Linked DNA regions of Homo sapiens: regions 1, 2, 3, 4, 5 and 7 are each linked to region 6. Evidence: promoter capture Hi-C in 16 types of primary human blood cells and fetal thymus (Javierre and others, 2016). All regions are on one chromosome and are shown on one strand. Each heading gives the region's core, a stretch centred on a gene start or on the middle of the fragment in contact. The rest is flanking DNA. Distances are from core to core; before and after follow the strand shown.

Region 1 (2,700 bases), core at 41-2,540, 390 kb after region 6:
AATACTGAACTTTTAATCCTTATATAACCTCCCCCACCTCATCTTACAGATGAGGAAACAGGCTTAGAAAGGGAAAATAAGAGTACAACATTTCAGTTAGGAGGAATAAGTTTCTTGAGATATATTGCACAACACAGTGAGTATAGCATATTGTATCTTTTGTATTTTTGTGTATTTTTGCTGTACCTATCTATTATATATTGCATATAATGACTATATTGTATATATAGTGTAGTTTATGTTTCAAAATTGCTTAGACGGTAAATGTCAAATGTTCTTATCACAAAAAGATCAGTATCTGAGATGACGGCTATATTAATTAGCTTTATGTAATCTTTTCACATTACATACATATATCATAATATCACACTGTACCTCATAAATGTATACAATTATAATATGTCAACATGCAATACAATCATTCAAAAAAAAAGAAAAATAACTTATCTAAGATCACACACCTTTTTTGTGACCAAGCCAAAATACTAACTCAAACAATTGGATTCCAAAGCCTCACTTTTAATCATGTTCTCCTGAAAGCTTTGTAAGATAAACTCAAAAGCAGCCAATTGTAGTATAATAGTGGACATTTGCACTTGGTGTTGGGGGGTCTCTGAGCAAGGGTTGCTGAATCTGCTGGGTGGAAGGAGAAGGAGCTATTTCTTGGAGGAGATTGGGGTTGATTTGGATTGGGTTTGCCAGTTGGGTAGGCCAGCCGTATGTAATAGTGTGTTCAAAGGTAGAGTCATGAAAGAGCACAGCACCTTCGGGGAAGGGAAAAGAATTTGCTGTGCTTAGAGCAAAAGGAGGGTATGAATGGGTTGTAGAGCATGGGCTACAGGAGTGAGCAAGAGGCCTGAATATATTGTAGAGGAGGTCAGAGTGGTAAGAATCCCCTGAAGGTGTTTATTTACAATAAAAATTGCTGAGTTCCAATTGCCAGAGAATCTTACTCAGTTAGACCTATGAATTTGCATTTGGACAGGCATCTCAGGTAATTCCAATGTGGGAGAGCCTCTTTGTGAATCACCGTTAAAAATGTTGGAAAACAATGTGCTGGATAGTGATATGGTTAATGTCATTGTGCTTTGAAACACACACACACACACACACACACAGACACACACACACACAGCACCTCAGTGGGGACAGGAAGCTGTTCTCAAAAGTGATTTTGGTTTATTTAGAATTCAGAAATAATATCAAGGTGTCTTTTCCTAGTGGTTTATACAACTGTCTCTCACACACACATTCTTGTGCTTATAATTGCTTTTCGATGCCATTTAGATTACTGGCCTCTAAAAAATGCTAAAATGGCTGGATCCAGTTTTATTCATTTTTAAGGCACTATATGCCACAAAAAGTATGAGCTTTTCAAACCAAATCTCACTTGTTTTGCCATTCTCAGTCCTTTCCATTCTAGCCCTTAGTAAATTTCAATTAATAAGAAATTCTTGTCTTAAATAAATGATGAATTACTTAATTGATTTATATTTTCAGTAAAACTTAATTTCACACAACATAATTGGGGGATTAATTAATAAATCAAACAAACTGCATTTCTGCACTTTTCCCTGGGATTAATTTAATAATTTAAAGGACTAATTATTCCAAGGTAAAATTTCAGTTGATATGCAAATTTAAGATTTGGCACCGTCTTGTTAAAATATAAGGTAAAAGTTTGTACATCCCATTGGCTTTGGATACATTTGAAACAGAATAAGTGAAAACAAACCGTGCTTTAAGAACGATCTGTTCCATTGAATTACTTATGGTTATGGTCAGGTGGCTCCCAAGAAAATGTTTTTTTCTTCTGTAGAAAATTGATACATCCCCATCTTCCAAAACAGAATGTCAGTACATTCTTCAATGTTTAAACAAACTCAAAAGGAAAATATAGGAGGGAGCACTCATCTAACTCATCTGGAATTAAATAGACTCCACACATCAAAATCTCATTGGGTAAGCAGAGATGGCCTTGACCAACTGGGGATTCTCAAATTTAGGATGCCAAATCCCACACTGATGTTTACTCCACACTTAAGCTTGTTCAACACAGATGGTAGGCATAAAATAGCTTAACTTCAATGGATCATGCCCTGAGAGAATGAGAGATTGTCTTCTGTGTTGACAGGAGGGTTGTTTTCACATTCCACTTGAATTAAATTATACTTGTTCATCCCATGGTGCATAATCTCTGGCAAGGGTTCTTAGAAAGAGCTATCATGTGGACTCATTGCAAAACAAGTTAAAAATAATAAAAAAAAGAAAGATTGCAAAGTAATGCTTTGAGCACTGTAAGAAAATATAAGGCAAAAGTTGAACAGCTTCCATTTATTTTGAAAAATATATAGATATCTATTTAGAGTAATATAATTAACATGGATTTTTGTATATTATATATAGATATATTGTATTAGTCCATTTTTCACACTTCTGATAAAGACATATCTTAGACTGGGTAATTTATAAAGAAAAAGACATTTAATGGACTCACAATTTCCCATGGCTAGGGAGGCCTCACAATCATGGTGGAAGGCAAAAGACACATCTTACATGGTGCAGACAAGAAAGAATGAGAGCCAGGCAAAAGGGGAAACCCCATATAAAGCCATCAGATCTTGTGAGACTTATTTACTACCATGAGAACAGTATGGGGGAAACTGCCCCTATGATTAGATTATCTCCCACTGGGTCCCT
Region 2 (2,814 bases), core at 253-2,752, 330 kb after region 6:
GATTATTTTCTCGCCCAGGTACTAAGCCTTGGATTCAATAGTTATTTTTCTTTCTTTTTTTTTCTTTTCTTTTTTTTTTTTTTTTTTTTTTTTTTGAGTTGGAGTTTCACTCTTGTTGCCCAGGCTGGAGTGCAATGGCCAGATCTTGCCTCACCATAACCTCTGCCTTCTGGGTACAAGCGATTCTCCTGCCTCAGCCTCCCAAGTAACTGGGATTACAGGCATGCACCACCATGCCCAGCTAATTTTTGTATTTTTAGTAGAGACGGGGTTTCTCCATGTTGATCAGGCTGGTCTTGAACGCCCTACCTCAGGTGATCCTCCTGCCTCGGCCTCCCAAAGTGCTGGGATTACAGGCGTGAGCCACTGCGCCCGGCCGATAGTTATTTTTTCTGATCTTCTCCCTCCTCTCACCTTCCACTCTCAAGTAGGCCCCAGTGTCTGTTGTTCCCTTCTTTGGCCCATGCATTCTCATCATTTAGCTCCCACTTATAAGTGAGAACATTTGGTATTTGGTTTTCCATTCCTGCATTAGTTTGCTAAGGATAATGGCCTCCAGCTCCATCCAGGTCCCTACAGAAGACATGATCTCATTTCTTTTATGGCCTCATAGTATTCCATGGTGTATATGTACCTGGTTTTCTTTATCCAGTCTATCATTGGTGGGCATTTAGGTTGATTCCATGTCCTTGCTATTATAAATAGTGCTGCAATTAACATACATATGTATGTGTCTGTGTGGCAGAATGATTTACTTATTCTTTTAATTAATAGAGTTTACTTTTTTAGAGTAGTTTTAGATTCACAGAAAATGATGCAGAAAATACACAGAGTTTGAACATACTCTTCTTGTCCTGCTGAACATCCTCCCCCATCATCGACATACCCCACCAGAATGGTACATTTGTTGCAATAGATGAACCTACATTGACATTGACACATCAATGTCACTCAGAGTTCTTAGATTAGAGTTCCCTCTTGATGCTGTACTTTCTAAGGGTTTTAAGGATGTATAATGTCATGCATCCATCATTATGGTGTCCTACAGAATCTTCCCTGCCCTAAAAATTTTCTTTGTTCTACCCAGTTTTTTGTTTCAATAGGTTTTGGGGAAATAGGTGGTGTTTGGTTACATGGATTTACATTCCTTTGGTTATATACCCAGTAATGGGATTGCTGGCCTGAATGTAGTTTTACTGGTGAGGTTGTGGAGAAAAGGGAATGCTTATACACTGCTGGTGGGAGTGTAAATTAGTTCAGCTACTGGGGAAAGCAGTGTGGCGATTCCTCAAAGAAATAACATCAGGGCTGTGTTTTTATATCAGAGCCCACTATATTTTTATGTCACACTCCCTGGAAGCTGAGAGAATAGTTCTCAAAAGGACTTATTCATTTCTAGTTTTCATTGCAATCTAGTATATTGCTGTAACTGCACAGTGACGTTTTGCAATGTTCATTTTCAACGGTTTGAACCAACACTGGTCAAGTCTCTGTAAAGACGCAAGGTCAGTAAGTTTGGAGACTTAGGTCTCACCACCTGGAGGCTTTGTCAAAACAGAAATTTGTGTTCTTATTGTGGCTTCGCTTGCTAGTCTTTATTATTGAAATTGTCATCTTTCTTTACGCTGTTCTCAAAGGTGTCTCACATTGCAGAATTCTTCCTTTTCTCTGTTCTTGGTTGGTATTTTTAAAGGCCTTTTCTTTTCTTCATTTTAATCAAAGAAAAAAGTTCCACTATGGTTTTCCTGTTTTGTTATGGGGAATTTCAAGATGACAGGCAAATTTAATGTTTTCTTGATATTCCCAGGCTCTTGTCCTGAAGAATGTCTTCCCTCTGCACTTGGAGTTCAAAGAAGTCATTTTTACTTTATTATTTACTTTACTTTATTATTTGCCTTTCTGTTCTTTCTTTGTTCTCGATACAAAGCAGTTTCTACTTTTCTAGTCTACCACTTTTTGCTTCCCAATAATTGTTATGTATTTTATTTTGCTAAGGCAAATTGTTATTTGTAAAATTTGTCGTAAGAGAGTCCCCTTGCATTTGAGGTGAGAGCTAGAAGCTCCTGGCACTGCTGGAAAAATATTCCTAATCACATGATAGCATAAAATAGTAGTTTGCGTAATGTATTACCACTTACAAAGTACTTTCACATGCATTATAGCATTTAATTCCTCAATAGTTTCCTACAGCTTTAATATCCTAAGTATTTTACAATAGCGGTGGTACATAGAAGCTGTTCAATAAATGTTTATGACTTAATTTTGGAAATAGATCATACATGATTATCTTCATTTTATAGCTGAGCAGGGTAAGTCAGAGAGATTAAATGACATACTTGAGGTCACAGAGCTAGTTAAGAATAAATCCAGAATTTAATTTGATGATCCCAAGACATCTCAACCATTTTCTCTGCCTAAAGAGATTATGTAAAACAATTCACAAATCTATGTCTCATTTGTCTTTCCAATAAGCGTTTCTTAATATTGGCTGTTTAACAATCTTGCTTATTAGACTTGTCATATCACACAATTACAAGTATAGATAAGAGAGGTATTCCTACTTCATTTGCAGAACTAACCAAATTCTAAGAGCATATAATTACAAGGAGTAAAATTTTCTGTTCCTGTCCAAGCTAAACTTGCCAAATTATACATAGGGAAGTACGTGTAATTCTTTCTGTAATAAGTTTCTTCTAATAGGCTAACACCAGCTTTGTTTTGTTTCATTATGTTTTATGTGAATGAGAAGAAAAATTCTGATTTACACAAAACCCACCACCAATTTGGGGCTTGTTTTAAAATTGTAAATTTTAA
Region 3 (2,749 bases), core at 145-2,644, 350 kb after region 6:
TAATTCAAACGTAGAATTCAGAGAAAAATGTCCCTCACACAATTTGCATACTGGAAAAGCAGTCACATTTTCTGTTAACCTTACTGTTCCATCCTGAGAAAATTAGCCAAGAAGGAATGAAAGATTTGGGTCTCGAGTTCTGCCATTGTTGCTGTTAGATGCGACTATATTTATGCAAGAAAATTAGAATCAATATGTTCTACTTAAAAATCATTTTGGGAACACAAAATTTTATCTCCTTAAAAGTCTCTCCCACATTTATAAAGTATAACTGTGTCTGTTGCATGAGCTTCTGTATAACAAGAGATACACGGTTGCATTGTATTCTCAGCTAACAGAAAGTGCATCTTTATGCCAGAGATTAGGATAACCCAAGATTAGCACAATGCAAGTTATACAAGTACAGTTCTTTTGTGAGAAATAAGTTGATTCCTACAGACCTATGTTACATATTCAACAATCAGAATTTAGACCGATATTAAGTCCTTTTCAAAATTCAGTTCCCTTATTTAGCAACACTCACTATTAGGAATTGTCTTTGTAGGGAATTTAAATACTTTGCCTCTGTTAACTTTTTTACCCCCACCAAGTGGATTTAGGGAACAACTGATTATTATTCTAAGTAGTGAGTAGTTTCATTTCTTCTGTATTCCAAGGTGTGTTACATAGAACCCTGTTCTCATAAGATCAGTTTTCTATTCTATTAATCATTTTAGTTACATAGGTTATATTACCTAAACCTTTGGCTTCATGTAGCCATGGGAACATGGGAATGTGAGCTCAAGCCTGGAAAATAGTATTTCCCAGTAGATCACCATTACTATATCATTCTTATCAGATTTGGTGAAGATTTGGTAAAGCATTCAAAATGCTGTAAAGCAATTTTAATTTATTTATTATTAAAATTTCTCCCTATTCATTCTTCCTCACATCAACAACAAAACACTTGTTTTTCAGTTTTTGAAGACCCCCAAATAGTAAATGATTTCAATGTAAATTTCAAGCATGATTAATTAAAGTAGCTTTATTTTCTTTCATAAAAGATCAGGTGATCTGATAGTTTCAATATCAAAGGGAATTCAGGCATTGTTAGTAAATTGATAAATCCTTCTGAGTTTACAAGAGAAATACCTTTGCTCCCTCAAAAAGAGAGGGAAAAGTATGGTAAAACTAAGACTTATGTTAAAAAAGGTGGAAATTAAAAGTAAAGCAAGTATAAGGAATATTGTCATTTGATTATTGGTCATGAAACATTAAACTTTTAATTGATTTCTGTAACTTTCTTTCTATATAAAATGAGCATCTTAGTACCTAAAAATGCAATGTGTACACAGCATGCATTACCTAGCAGAGAGTAAGTAGTACACTTGTACTTAAAGTTACTGTTTTTTCCATCATCGTTATCACTTTAAAAAACAGCGATACTAACTTAGATGTCACTGCCAAAGCTGAGTGCCCTTCAGAGTGGAACCACAGGAGATTCCCACTAAGAAACACAGTGACAGTGTGTCTCTGGAACTTCAGTGCTTTCTGACTATGTTGATGTGTGTTGTTTTATGTCTCTTCATAAGACTTATGTCTGCCTGTCTGTCCATCTGTATGTCTCGAAATCACTGTTTTTCATAAAATGTATTTGTAAATCTTTAGAAACAGAAAGAACCATAGAAATCAGCTAATTCAACATCCACAGGTACAGCTATGAAAAACAGGTCTAAGTACAGGACTGACTTTGGTTGTTCATTTCAGAAATATGAATGTAAAAATATACTTATTATGATTAGAAGCATAGCACATTATAATTCTGAGTAATTTATAAATTAACAGGAAACCCAAGGAGGAAAATTTAAATTACTTAGAAATCTACTACAGAGAAATAGTAATAAATGTTTTCACGTATCTGTATCCAACTATTTATTTGTAATATACACATATATGAAGATACCCACATTAAGAAAATTGGCATTATGCTGTAAATTATTCTGCCCCCTGTTTTCACCTTCATATATAAAACATATTTTTTACACTGTTAAATATCTGTCTAAAATGTGGTCATTAATAGTTATAAGAAATTTATCTGTTTCATAATTTATGTAACCTGTCACTAAAGAGGTTGGTTACATAGTTTGCATCGCATATTATCAGTAAAATGGTGCTAAACGTCCTTGTTTCTAAATTTTTGCATGTATCTGATTCTCAAAAAGTGAATTTGTGGATACTGAATGTTAATATTGTTTTGAATGTATTTTGACAAATTGCTTTCCATCAAGGTTGTACCAGTTTACTACCCATTGTTATATTAGAAATATCCCATTTCCCAAAGAGCTTTCTAATATTCATTTTTAACTCTGCAAATTTGGTAAGCACGAAATGGTATTTCATTGTTGTCTTTCGATTACCAGAAAGTTTTAACACCGTCATATATTCATGTGTTGTTTGTAATTTCCATAATTTCTTGGTAAATAGCTCTATTAAGTAATTCTTTCTCAGCCTCAGCTTATGTCCTTCCAAATCCTTACACAACATGCAGAGGTCTTCCTGGATACACGCACGATTCTCACTAGTGCCATTTGCACTAATTTGTTTCTCTCTCCTCCAATGTAACATTTTGAATTTCAATCATCATCTGTGGGGTGCTGACTTATCCCATCGGGCCTCACTGTTTCTCTACTTTCCGAGCTTAATGAGCTTAATCCTTCTAGCAAGAAACTCAGAAAATCCACTCATGCCATGTGGTTCTTTAATTTGGAAC
Region 4 (2,700 bases), core at 31-2,530, 370 kb after region 6:
TCTTTATTCTAGTAGGATTTATATTCCTTTGGGTATATACCCAGTAATGGGATTGCAGGGTCAAATGGTGTATTCTATAGTAAGTGTATTTGGCTTTCTGTGTCAGGAGGTACTCAGCTGCCGGGTACCTGAGGTTGAGGAGCATTCAAAAGTTGAGGAAGCATTCCTGAGTTATTCAAAAGATTCAAAAAAAAATCCCAAGAATACTATGGGAAAGGAGGCCATATTTTATGACCTTAGGTGAATTACGTGGAAATGTCTGGTTGGATACCTAGTGGCACAGCCAGCAATAAACAATCTCACCTTGAACAAAGCAATAAAGCCTGCTTACTCTGTATCCCAGAATGGAAAATACATCTGGCCTCTAGATATATCAGATTCTGATATTCCTTAAAGCTGAATGGACCCAATTTCAGTAGTTCTCAAAATTTCTTTTTTGTAGATCTTTTTGCTTTTATTATCTTTAATTGACATAACAATTATACACATTTATAGGGTACAGTGTGATATTTTAATACAGGTATACAATGTATAATGATCAAATCAATATAATTAACATATCAATCACCTTAAACATTTAGTATGTCTTGGTGTTAGGAACGTTTAAAATCTGCTCTTCTATTGTATATTTGAAAATATACAATAAATTGTTAATTACAGTTATTGACATAACTGTAATTCCTAGCACATAATTTACTTCAAAGCTTTTTGCAGGTCTTCTTAATGGGTAAGGCTGCATGTCTGACTCAGAAATGGATAGAAAATAAATGCTTTAGCTTTTAGAAAACATCATCAAAATCTTAATTAGGATGTTCCTATTAAGAAATGTAAAATAGTCATCTTTTCACTTTTCTGGGGGATAGCTTTTAACAAAAGTGAAAAATCAGAATCGATCTCGATGACACTTTCATAATTTTCTTACAGAAATATTAAAAGAGCTGGGTTGAGTGTAAACATGTATTTTAAATGTCTTTCTATATTTTAACATTACGTTCCCCACAAAACAAATAACTAAACTGTAAACTATTTTTGAAAAGTGTTCTCATTTACCATCATATCAGCCATTTCAATAGAAAACTGTTAATCTAAAGTTCTTTTTATATTCAATACTCAATTAAATATATATTTCATAGAGAAGTACATAATAGATGCTGTTCATCCAGTGATAATAAAAGGATATTTGACTCGTTTCCCCCCAACTCATATAAGTGTAAATAAATGTGAATGTTATTAAATATATACTAAATATGTGTTATTAAATATATATTAAAATAGTTAAAAGTTAATTGCCCAAAAATAGAACACTAGAACTTATTCCTTCTATCGGGCTGTACTTTGTATTCATTAACAAACTTTTCAGTATCTCCCCCTTTCCCCATCCTTTCTTACCCCTAGTAGCCATTATCCTATTCTCTACTTCTATGAAATCAACATTTTTAGCTTCCATGTGTGTGAGAACATGCGGTACTCATCTTTCTGTGTCTGGCTTATTTCACAGCATAATATTAATATTAATACAGTTAAGAATTGGCACAGAATTTTGTCAAGATGCAGATTGCTCTACAGCTCACTAAAGATTCATATTCAGTAGGTCCAAAGTGGATCCCAGGGATTTGGCTTTTTAATAAGCCTTTTTGGGGAATGCTGAGGTAGTCTAGGACTAGGGCAGTAGAAATGCTGATCTTGTATGTCTGAGCTAAGGGGCCTGGAAGCTGCAGTGATTTTGCCTAAGTTGTATGGAAGCACTTATTCATCCTTAATATGGAACTGAGAAATATTATAGAAAAAATCTGTAGATATATTTATTATTAAAACATATTAAGAGCTAATGAAGTTGAGCCTGATAAAAGAAAGTAAGAAGCTTTTGAATAAGTGTAGTGTATATGATAAATAAATCAGAAGATTTTAGAATGTTGTGAACTAGTTAAAAAGATTGGAACTTTCTTTAGTTCTGAGTTGATATTAAATTATTGCTATCCAAGTGGTAATCAGTGTTTTAAAGAAATTTAAGGAGGTTCTAAAAATGCCATACAACTAAGATGGTTGTTTTTAGCTTACAATGCTATAAGAGATAAATTGAACTTTGAATTTATTTTAGTACAAGACCTTTTATAATCAGTTTTTTTTTTCAAATTTTAATGAAGAATCTTCGCTTTTCTATTAAGCTGCTTGTCCTGAAATATAGCATAAACAAGATTGTCTTTTAAGAATGCAAAGTAAAAGTTTATTTTTACCTCCTTTTAAGCCTTCCAAACCTGAGTTTAACAAAAGTGTACTAATTATTTTTGTGTGGATTAAATATAATAATACAGTGAGGTATGATGTTATTTTATCCATAACATAAAAGCATTTTGAAATATATTTTGATGTAAATAATGCTTTTGAAAAAAATACATAAGGTACTAATAACAGGGCTTCCCTTTGGAGAACCTGTCATGAATTGGAAACTGGCATAAAGAGAAATACGTATTACCATTTCATCATAATCAGATCTTTGAAAGATTTGAATTTTTACCACACACACATATTGTGTATAATAAAACCATCGATAAACAAAGGAACACACTTTTTAAAAGAAAGGTAGGCCATATATATATATATATATATATATATATACACATACACACACATATATATACACACACATATATATACACACACACACACATATATATATATACACATATATATAAAAGTTTA
Region 5 (2,782 bases), core at 82-2,581, 310 kb after region 6:
CTGTAGCTTTGTAGTAGATTTTGAAATCAGGTAGTGTGATGCCTCCAGCTTTGTTCTTCTTGCTCAAGATAGCTTTGGCAGTTACAGGCCTTTTGTGGTTCCATATGAATTTCTTGATTTTTTTTTTCTTTTTCTTTGAAAATGCCATTGGGATTTTGATAAGAATTGCATTTAATATGTAGATTGCTTTGGGTCACATGGAAAGTTTAATATTTTTAATTTTCAATTCTTCTCATCTATGATCACAGGATATCATTCCTTTTATTTGTGATTTCTTTAATTTTCTTTCACCAATGCTTCAGTTTACGGATCTTTTATCTCTTTGGATAAAATTATTTCTAAATATTTTAAATTTTGGTGCTATTGTATGTGAGAGTGTTAATTTCTATTTTGGATAGTTTGTTGTTAGTGTATAGAAACACAACTGATTTTCGCATGTTTATTGTGTATCTTGTACTTTCACTGAATTTGTTTATTAATGCCAACAGGTTTTTGGAGGAGTTTTAAGGGTTTTGTATATAGAGCATTATGTCATCTGCAAAGAAAATTTTATTTCTTCCTTTCTGGTTTGTCTTTTATTTCTTTTTTCTTGATTAATTGCTCTGGCTAGAACTTCTAATATTATATTGAATAGAAGTGGCAAGAATGAGTATCCTTATCTTGTTACTAATCCCGAGAAGCTTTTAGCTTTTTATCATTGAGTGTGATACTATATGTGGACTTGTCATACATATTCTTTATTATTTTAAGTTATATTCCATCTATACCTAATTTGTTGAGAGTTTTTATCATGAAAGGATGTTAAATTTTGTCAAATGCTTTTTTGCATATATCGAGATGATCATATAATTTTTAATCTTCATTCTATTAATGTAGTATATCACATTTATTGATTTGTGTATGTTAAAACAAGGATAAAACCCATGTGATCATGGGTAGTGATCCTTTTAATGTGCTGTTGAATTAGATTTTCTATTATTTGGTAAGGATTTCTGCATCTACATTCATCAGGGATATTGACCTGTAGTTTTCTTTTATTGTAACGTTTTCGTCTGACTTTGGTATCCAGGTAATGCTGGCCATGAGAAAAGAGTTTGCAAGTGTTTCTTTCTCTTCAAATTTTTTGGAAGATTTTAAGTAGTATTGGTGTTAAATATCCTTTAAATGTTTGGTAGAATTTACCCCAGTAAAGCCATGAGGTCCTGAGCATCTCTTTGTTTGGAGGTTTTTGATTACTGATTAAGTCTCTTTACTTGTTATTTTTTTTTTTTCAGATTTTCTATTCTGTTTTTTGTTCTGGTTTCTTTTATCCATATTTTCTATTCTATTTAGTGTTTCTGTACTGTTCTGTTCCGACGTGGTAATATGTATGTTTCCAGAAATTTATACACTGCTTCTAGGTTATCGAATTTGTTGGCATATAATTTTTATAGTAGTTTCTTCTGATATTTTATATTTATATGGTATCAATTGTAATCTCTTCTTTCACTTATAATTTTTTTTCTTTTTTGAGACAGAGTTTCACTCTTGTTGCCCAGGCTGGAGTGCAATGGTGCAATCTCAGTGCACTGCAACCTCCGCCTCCTGAGTTCGAGCAATTCTCCTGTCTCAGCCTCCCGAGTAGCTGGAATTATGGGCACATGCCACCATGCCCAGCTAATTTTTGTATTTTTAATAGAGACAGGGTTTCATCATATTGGTCAGGCTGGTCTTGAACTCCTGACCTCAGGTGATCCACCTGCCTCAGCCTCCCAAAGTGCTGGGATTACAGGCGTGAGCCACTGCACCCGGCCACTTACAGTTTTATTATTCTATTTTTTCTTAGTTTAACTAAAAGTTACTCTTTTGTTTATTTAGAAAAAAAACCCAACTCCTAGTTTCATTAATCTTTTGTATTGTTTTTTCTAGTCCCTATATCATTCATATATATTCTGATCTTTTTTATTTCCTTCCTTCTGCTAACTCTTTATTATATCCTTTCTTAAGCTTAGTTTGTTCTTGTTTCCTTGTTCCTTGAGGTGTCATATTAGGTTGCTTTTATGAAATCTTTCTTTTTTCTTCATGTAGGCATTTATTGCTATAAACTTACCCCTTAGGGCTGCTGTTGCTGCATCCCATAAAATTTGGAAAGTTATATTTGCATTTTTGTTTGTCTCAAGATATCTTTTAAGATCACTATTGATTTCTTCTTTGACTCATTGGTTGTTCAGAACTATGTTATTTAATTTTCACATATTTGCAAATGCTTCCAATTTTCCTCCTCTTATTGATTTCTAATTTCATTTCATCGTGGTCTGAAAAGATACTTGGTATTACTTAAATCTTCTTAAATCTGTGAAGACTTTTATTTGACCTAACGTGGATCTATCCTAACAAATATTCCATGTGCATTTGTAAAGAATGTATATTCTGCTGCTGTTGGATGAAACGTTCTATATATCTCTGTTAAATTCATTTGGTCTTCAGTCTTGTTCGTGTCTTCTGTATACTTATGGATTGTTTTTGTCTGGATGACCTATCCACTGCTGAAGGTGGCAATATTGAAGTCCTCTACTATTATTGTATTGGTGAACTATTTCTCCTTTTAGCTCTCTTAATATTTGCTTTATATATTTATGTTCTTAATATTGAGGGCATAACTATTTACAATTTTATGTCCTTTTGATGAATTGATATCTTTATCATTGTCTCTTGTGGCAGTTTTTGATTTAACATCTCTTTTGTCTGATATAGTTACGGCTACTCCTGCTCTCTTTTGGACTATTTTTGCAGGGACTATCTT
Region 6 (2,724 bases), core at 9-2,508:
ATTGCAACCACCTTATAAGGGCGTTACTCTAATTCTCTCCATTTGATGGATGGATAACTGAGGCTAGGAGATAAACTGCTCATTGCGGGGGAGGTGAAATTCCAGCCCAGGCTGTCCGGGCTCTAGATCCTGTACTTTTAACCAATAGCGCTTTGCTTCTTTTCCTTGTATTTATCCCTTTCAAAAATGATTAACTGTATGCAAAATAAGATATCAACTAACGAGAGGGCCGGCAAGGGTTAACGCGGAAACAGATCCCCGAGCTGAAAAAACAAAAACAAACTGGGGAGCCAGAGCCCCTGAAAGCTCCGGTAGGAAATTCAATGGGCCTCCTGTTCCTTTAAACTCTCGCTTTCGCCCCCGCTGACACTTTGCAAAGCCGCGGCGGCAGCGGCGGGGACCACGCTGCGGTGCACCACCTTCCGCCACCCTCCCGCGCTGGGCTGGGGTCGAGGGGGCTTCGCAGAGTCGGTAACCGAACCGGCTCTGGTTTGCTTTCTCCACTCCCTAGCCACTACCAGAACCAGCCTCCGCGAAGGGGCGAGCTGTGGTTAACCCTTTCGTGCCCAGGGAGACCCCGCCAGGGTCGGGGCGGGGCGCGATCGCCCCCCGCAGTCGGGCGCGAAGGCGGCCCGGGAGCCAGGTGGGTGTGGGGCGCAGTTGGCGGAGCTGCCCAGGGCGTGCGAGCAGGCTGCGAGGATGGCGCCCCGGCGGCGCGGAGGTACCGCCCCGCGCTCCCCCGATAGCTCCCCGGCCTGTCCCCTCTCCCCGCGCTCTGGGGCAGCCGGCTGCCTGGGGCGCACGGGGCTGGAGTGGCCCTCTCCCTCCCCTTCGCTAGGCTCCCCCGGCTTAATCTGTTGGCCGCGACTCCTCAGCCAGCCCCGAGGAAAGTGCAGCCATTGGACAGGTCTGTGCGGGCTGCCGGTTTCAGGGAGGAAGGTGGGAGAAGCCTGGAGGAGCGAAGGGGAGGGCGGAGGGAGGAGGGAGGAGGGTGCGGCGGCAGATCTGGCAAATTGCGAGCTGCCTTCCCTCCTCAAAGTGTGGAGAAGGAGCGCGGGGGAGCGTGGCGACGGCAGCGCCTCCTCCGCCACCAAACTCCTGGGGCTCCGCGGGGGCTTGGGGCCACCTCCTCCTGAGCCCGGAGGAACCCTCTCCCGATAGGTTCCAGCGTGACTCCCTCCCACTCCACCCTTTTCCTTTCTTCTTCCTCTTTTTTTTTTTTTTTTTTAAACACATTTTTTTCCTGGCTTCGGACCTCAGACTGCTGCAGCCCTAACCTTCCCAGGGCTCAGCTCTTTGGAGCTGCCCATTCCTCCGGCTGCGAGAAAGGACGCGCGCCCTGCGTCGGGCGAAGAAAAGAAGCAAAACTTGTCGGGAGGGTTTCGTCATCAACCTCCTTCCCGCAAACCTAAACCTCCTGCCGGGGCCATCCCTAGACAGAGGAAAGTTCCTGCAGAGCCGACCAGCCCTAGTGGATCTGGGGCAGGCAGCGGCGCTGGCTGTGGAATTAGATCTGTTTTGAACCCAGTGGAGCGCATCGCTGGGGCTCGGAAGTCACCGTCCGCGGGCACCGGGTTGGCGCTGCCCGAGTGGAACCGACAGTTTGCGAGCCTCGGCTGCAAGTGGCCTCTCCTCCCCGCGGTTGTTGTTCAGTGTCGGGTGAGGGCTGCGAGTGTGGCAAGTTGCAAAGAGAGCCTCAGAGGTCCGAAGAGCGCTGCGCTCCTACTCGCGTTCGCTTCTTCCTCTTCTCGGTTCCCTACTGTGAAATCGCAGCGACATTTACAAAGGCCTCCGGGTCCTACCGAGACCGATCCGCAGCGTTTGGCCCGGTCGTGCCTATTGCATCGGGAGCCCCCGAGCACCGGCGAAGGACTGGCGGGTGGGGTAGGGAGGTGGCGGCGGCGGCATGGCGAGGTTCCCGAAGGCCGACCTGGCCGCTGCAGGAGTTATGTTACTTTGCCACTTCTTCACGGACCAGTTTCAGTTCGCCGATGGGAAACCCGGAGACCAAATCCTTGGTAAGTAAGATGCACTTTAGCTTGCTGATTTTGTGCGCAGCTGAAGACCTCTCTGGCACTCTCGTGCTCCCTACCCTCTCCCCCCAACATCACCTATCTGCCCTTGGGAAACTTATTGCAGTTGCTTTTCGGCTAAACTTAGGCTTCCCAAATGGGGAAAGAGGGTTATCAAGAGAAGGACGCCGGGGACTAGGGGTTTTCTTGAGGCTTTCGGGCTTACTTCACCTGGGCGGCAGGGGGTGGTACTGTCTCCCCAAAGTAGCCCAGGGAGGGCTTCAGTGTGAGAGCAAAGCTTCTTCCGTGGATACATCTCCTAGGACCTGGCATCTCCAGGCTGTGTGCTCTCCGGCTCCTCCTCCTTCCTCGCTGCTGGTTAAACTAAGCGTGTGTGGTATGGGGTGGGTGGGGGACGTTGTGAAAGCCAGGGATTGCAGGTCTCCCCTCTGCACGAGAAAATTCCCTGTGGCAGCACCTTCCTTCCCCTGGCGATCCCCACTAGCTCCGTCTAGTGACCTGGGCCAAGCGGGCGCTGGAAGGGGGGCGGGGTAAATGCGGCCGGCGCAGAGGTGGGGAGCAGGTGGGAAAGGTGGAGGCGGGCTCGCCTCTGGAGACCTACCCCTGCTCCCATTGTCCTCCGCCTGCCAGCTTCACAGACAGGCCTGAACGCGCAGAGAGTTCCTTGGAGTGCCCTGATTTTGTCCCCGAG
Region 7 (2,700 bases), core at 87-2,586, 260 kb after region 6:
AAGAAAGCTGTTTAAATTTTAGCTCTATTTTATTTCATTTGCTACGTAAAAGATTAAAATGTTTATTAAGTAATACCTGTACATATCTGAAAAACTAATAACGTGGACATTTAACAAGTCAAACAGGCAAAAGTAAAATGTAAATCTCCCTTCTTCCTTTGTCTCTTAGTTCACCAGTTTCCCTCCCAAAAAAAAATACCTTACTTTTTGAGGTATGGTATATTAAAATTCAAACTTAGAGTAGTTTCCTATATCTGGCCAATAATCATTAGCTTTTTTTCTGTTTAAATTCCCACTAAGAGAGATTTTTTAAAAATATTAATGCATTTTATCTTCATTAGCTTTTCAGGAAATATATTACCAAATCTCCCTGCTCCTTTTTTGTTCTGGCTTTCAAATGGTAATATTTTAATTGTAGTCCCAAATAATATTTCATACTCTTTATAGGGACTTGATTAATAACAGGAATAAAAGGCTTTTTAGGAGAGGAAGATAGTTATTACTCATGATGATTGATTTGTAAATACCAACAACATCTTCTTTCAAGTGTATAACCCCATAAAACAAAGCATGGTGTATCCATTAACTTTCTGCATCTAGGGAGAAGGTGAATGGAGTTGTTTTGTATTATTATTATTATTAACAGAGATCACAGGTTATGGTAATCTGGAGATCTATGTGTTATGGAAGATACTAAAGAGATAGATGCTGGATGAAAGTAAATTCATTCCAACTTGCTTCAATGATTTAAAGTTACAAACTCAAGTCTCAAGGATTCCTAGAGAGAAAGATGAATTGCGTGATGTCTGATCTGCTGAATCTGAATAATTCTCTGAGATAGACCTCCAAAAACCTGAGAGTTCATCTGAGCTGTCTTCTTTGATAACTTACTCCTCCCTCAAACTGTCTAGTGTCAGCAGTAGATTCAGTAGCTTGACCATTATTATATATTTATTTCTTTATTTTGTAGACAGGATCTCACTCTGTCACCCAAGCTGGAGTGCAGTGGCACAATCACAGCTCACTGCAGCCTTGACCTCCTAGGCTCAAGTGATCCTCCCACTTCAGCTCCCCAAATAGCTGGGACTACAGGCATGCACCACCATGCCTGGCCAATTTTTAGATTTTTTTGTAGAGATGGAGTCTCATTATGTTGTCCAGGCTGATCTCAAACTCCTAGCCTCTAGCAATCCTCCCATCTCAGCCTCCAAAAGTGCTGGGATTACAGGTGTGAGACACTGCGCCAAGCTATGTTGTTTTGTCTTTCACGAATTTCATATTCACAACCACTTGTTTCTCCTGCATGTCTGTCCATACATGCTTTATTTCATTAGCACTGGCTCCTTGTGGCAGGGGTGGGAAGCATAATTGGAAATTAAGCCAGTAGGAGACCCAGAGAGAAAGCACCCAGGAGCAAGAGTTGACTCAATAGGAATCAGCAAGAAAAATACAAGAGACAGAAATATGGGTAGAATGAAGGAGAACAATTAGATGTAAACAAAACTGAGCAGAGCATTGGCACATGATGGATAAGTCATGATTTTAGGACAGGAATGGGGGAAGGTGGATCAGCTGAGACAAGGGTGTGGGTGAAAAACATGGTCTCCAGGCTCATCCCCTTCCATTGCCATAACAGCCACTGAAGTGTCCACTGATTGCTAGTGCTAGAATACTCCCTTACGGATGTTTATACCAGGAAAGCATCATTCATCTTCTTCCAGCACATCCAGGCTTTATTGGAAACACTGGCAATGATATTTTTGCTTGTAGCCTTTCCTAGTCACTGCAGCAGTAATTCAGATAAATAGCAATTTTACACAGATCCTGAAATACATCACCCAATTGAAAATAAAGGGTGTCTAAGTGACTCTGTGCAATTAATAAAGTAACAATATATGCCAGATGCTCTAACATTGTCGAATCCTGGAAAGTAAAGGAAAGAAATAGTAAATAGTGCAGGACTGACATTAGACCCTGGCCATTTCAGAAATGAGTTCAAAAGAGTTCCCTCAATTCCTACTTAAGCCAGAAATTGAGTTGCATTTTCTTAGAGAAGAAGTTAGGCTTCCAGGTTAAGATAAATAGACTTTTGAATCTGAATACTTCAGTTCATAAGCCAAGGCAATCGTAACTGTATGATCTTCAGCAAATGACTTAATCTCTCTGATGTCAGTTTCCTTGCCTATAAAATAGCACAATAAAAATACCTGGTGCATAAATTTGTTGTGATGACTAAATTAATTAACATATGTTAATGATACCTGTTTCATAGAAAATGCTACATAGATAGCATATGCTAATACTGCATTTTTCCCCCACTTACATTTCCTCCTTTATTTCTTTTCAAAGTGCTTTCTCTTTAAGTCCTGTGCTGCCTTTTTAGTTTGTCTGTTGTTTCCTTTGATGACCTCATTCATTAGATTTCTCTCCATAAAGCATAGAAGGGGTCTCAAGGAGTGTTTAGGAACCTAATCCATTGTCATCTCTAACTGCTCCTATTAAAGGCTGGCTCAACCACTGATGTCTGGGAAGTAGAATAGCATGTAAATAACTTGGGATGTCCGCTTGATCACCATGGCTATACCTATCATTTTTTGGTGCTGTTCAGAATCTCTCTAAAGACTGTCCCATGATGACATTTTGGGACTCTGGGACACTGTCTGGAAACCTTACAAAATTTAGCAATTTTGTAACACACGA

Evidence for each region. The method cuts DNA at HindIII sites, captures the fragments that hold promoters and counts their contacts. A CHiCAGO score of 5 or more calls a contact.
Region 1: a fragment that was not itself captured here is called in contact with the fragment with the promoter of PLXDC2 in region 6 in 4 of 17 cell types (neutrophils, M0 macrophages, monocytes and 1 more); the score reaches 6.3 in neutrophils.
Region 2: a fragment that was not itself captured here is called in contact with the fragment with the promoter of PLXDC2 in region 6 in 4 of 17 cell types (M2 macrophages, neutrophils, monocytes and 1 more); the score reaches 7.9 in M2 macrophages.
Region 3: a contact is called between a fragment that was not itself captured here and the fragment with the promoter of PLXDC2 in region 6, in 2 of 17 cell types (M2 macrophages and neutrophils). The highest score is 7.3, in M2 macrophages.
Region 4: a contact is called between a fragment that was not itself captured here and the fragment with the promoter of PLXDC2 in region 6, in 2 of 17 cell types (M2 macrophages and M0 macrophages). The highest score is 7.8, in M2 macrophages.
Region 5: a fragment that was not itself captured here is called in contact with the fragment with the promoter of PLXDC2 in region 6 in 1 of 17 cell types (M2 macrophages); the score reaches 5.3 in M2 macrophages.
Region 7: a contact is called between a fragment that was not itself captured here and the fragment with the promoter of PLXDC2 in region 6, in 2 of 17 cell types (M2 macrophages and monocytes). The highest score is 6.6, in M2 macrophages.

What each region holds. Positions count from the first base shown.
Region 1 is chr10:20,205,757-20,208,456 of GRCh38, forward strand. All of the region lies in intron 9 of PLXDC2 (plexin domain containing 2), which reads left to right. Among named protein-coding and RNA genes, the nearest start is that of MIR4675, 340 kb to the right of the region's middle. The HindIII fragment of the contact is 1,505 bases long and covers 539-2,043 here.
Region 2 is chr10:20,149,161-20,151,974 of GRCh38, forward strand. The region is part of intron 6 of PLXDC2 (plexin domain containing 2); the gene reads left to right. Among named protein-coding and RNA genes, the nearest start is that of PLXDC2, 330 kb to the left of the region's middle. The HindIII fragment of the contact is 5,641 bases long and covers 1-2,814 here.
Region 3 is chr10:20,166,987-20,169,735 of GRCh38, forward strand. The region is part of intron 7 of PLXDC2 (plexin domain containing 2); the gene reads left to right. Among named protein-coding and RNA genes, the nearest start is that of PLXDC2, 350 kb to the left of the region's middle. The HindIII fragment of the contact is 4,412 bases long and covers 1-2,749 here.
Region 4 is chr10:20,186,890-20,189,589 of GRCh38, forward strand. The region is part of intron 9 of PLXDC2 (plexin domain containing 2); the gene reads left to right. Among named protein-coding and RNA genes, the nearest start is that of MIR4675, 360 kb to the right of the region's middle. The HindIII fragment of the contact is 1,157 bases long and covers 703-1,859 here.
Region 5 is chr10:20,129,907-20,132,688 of GRCh38, forward strand. All of the region lies in intron 4 of PLXDC2 (plexin domain containing 2), which reads left to right. Among named protein-coding and RNA genes, the nearest start is that of PLXDC2, 310 kb to the left of the region's middle. The HindIII fragment of the contact is 1,306 bases long and covers 679-1,984 here.
Region 6 is chr10:19,815,174-19,817,897 of GRCh38, forward strand. PLXDC2 (plexin domain containing 2) reads left to right here and starts at 1,259. Exons shown (of 14, transcript NM_032812.9): 1 at 1,259-2,018. The coding sequence starts at 1,907. It overlaps LOC124902388 (a long non-coding RNA gene), which reads right to left and starts at 1,055. Exons shown (of 2, transcript XR_007062078.1): 1 at 1-1,055. RefSeq lists an enhancer at 183-948. The HindIII fragment of the contact is 8,470 bases long and covers 1-2,308 here.
Region 7 is chr10:20,074,240-20,076,939 of GRCh38, forward strand. The region is part of intron 4 of PLXDC2 (plexin domain containing 2); the gene reads left to right. Among named protein-coding and RNA genes, the nearest start is that of PLXDC2, 260 kb to the left of the region's middle. The HindIII fragment of the contact is 4,019 bases long and covers 1-2,700 here.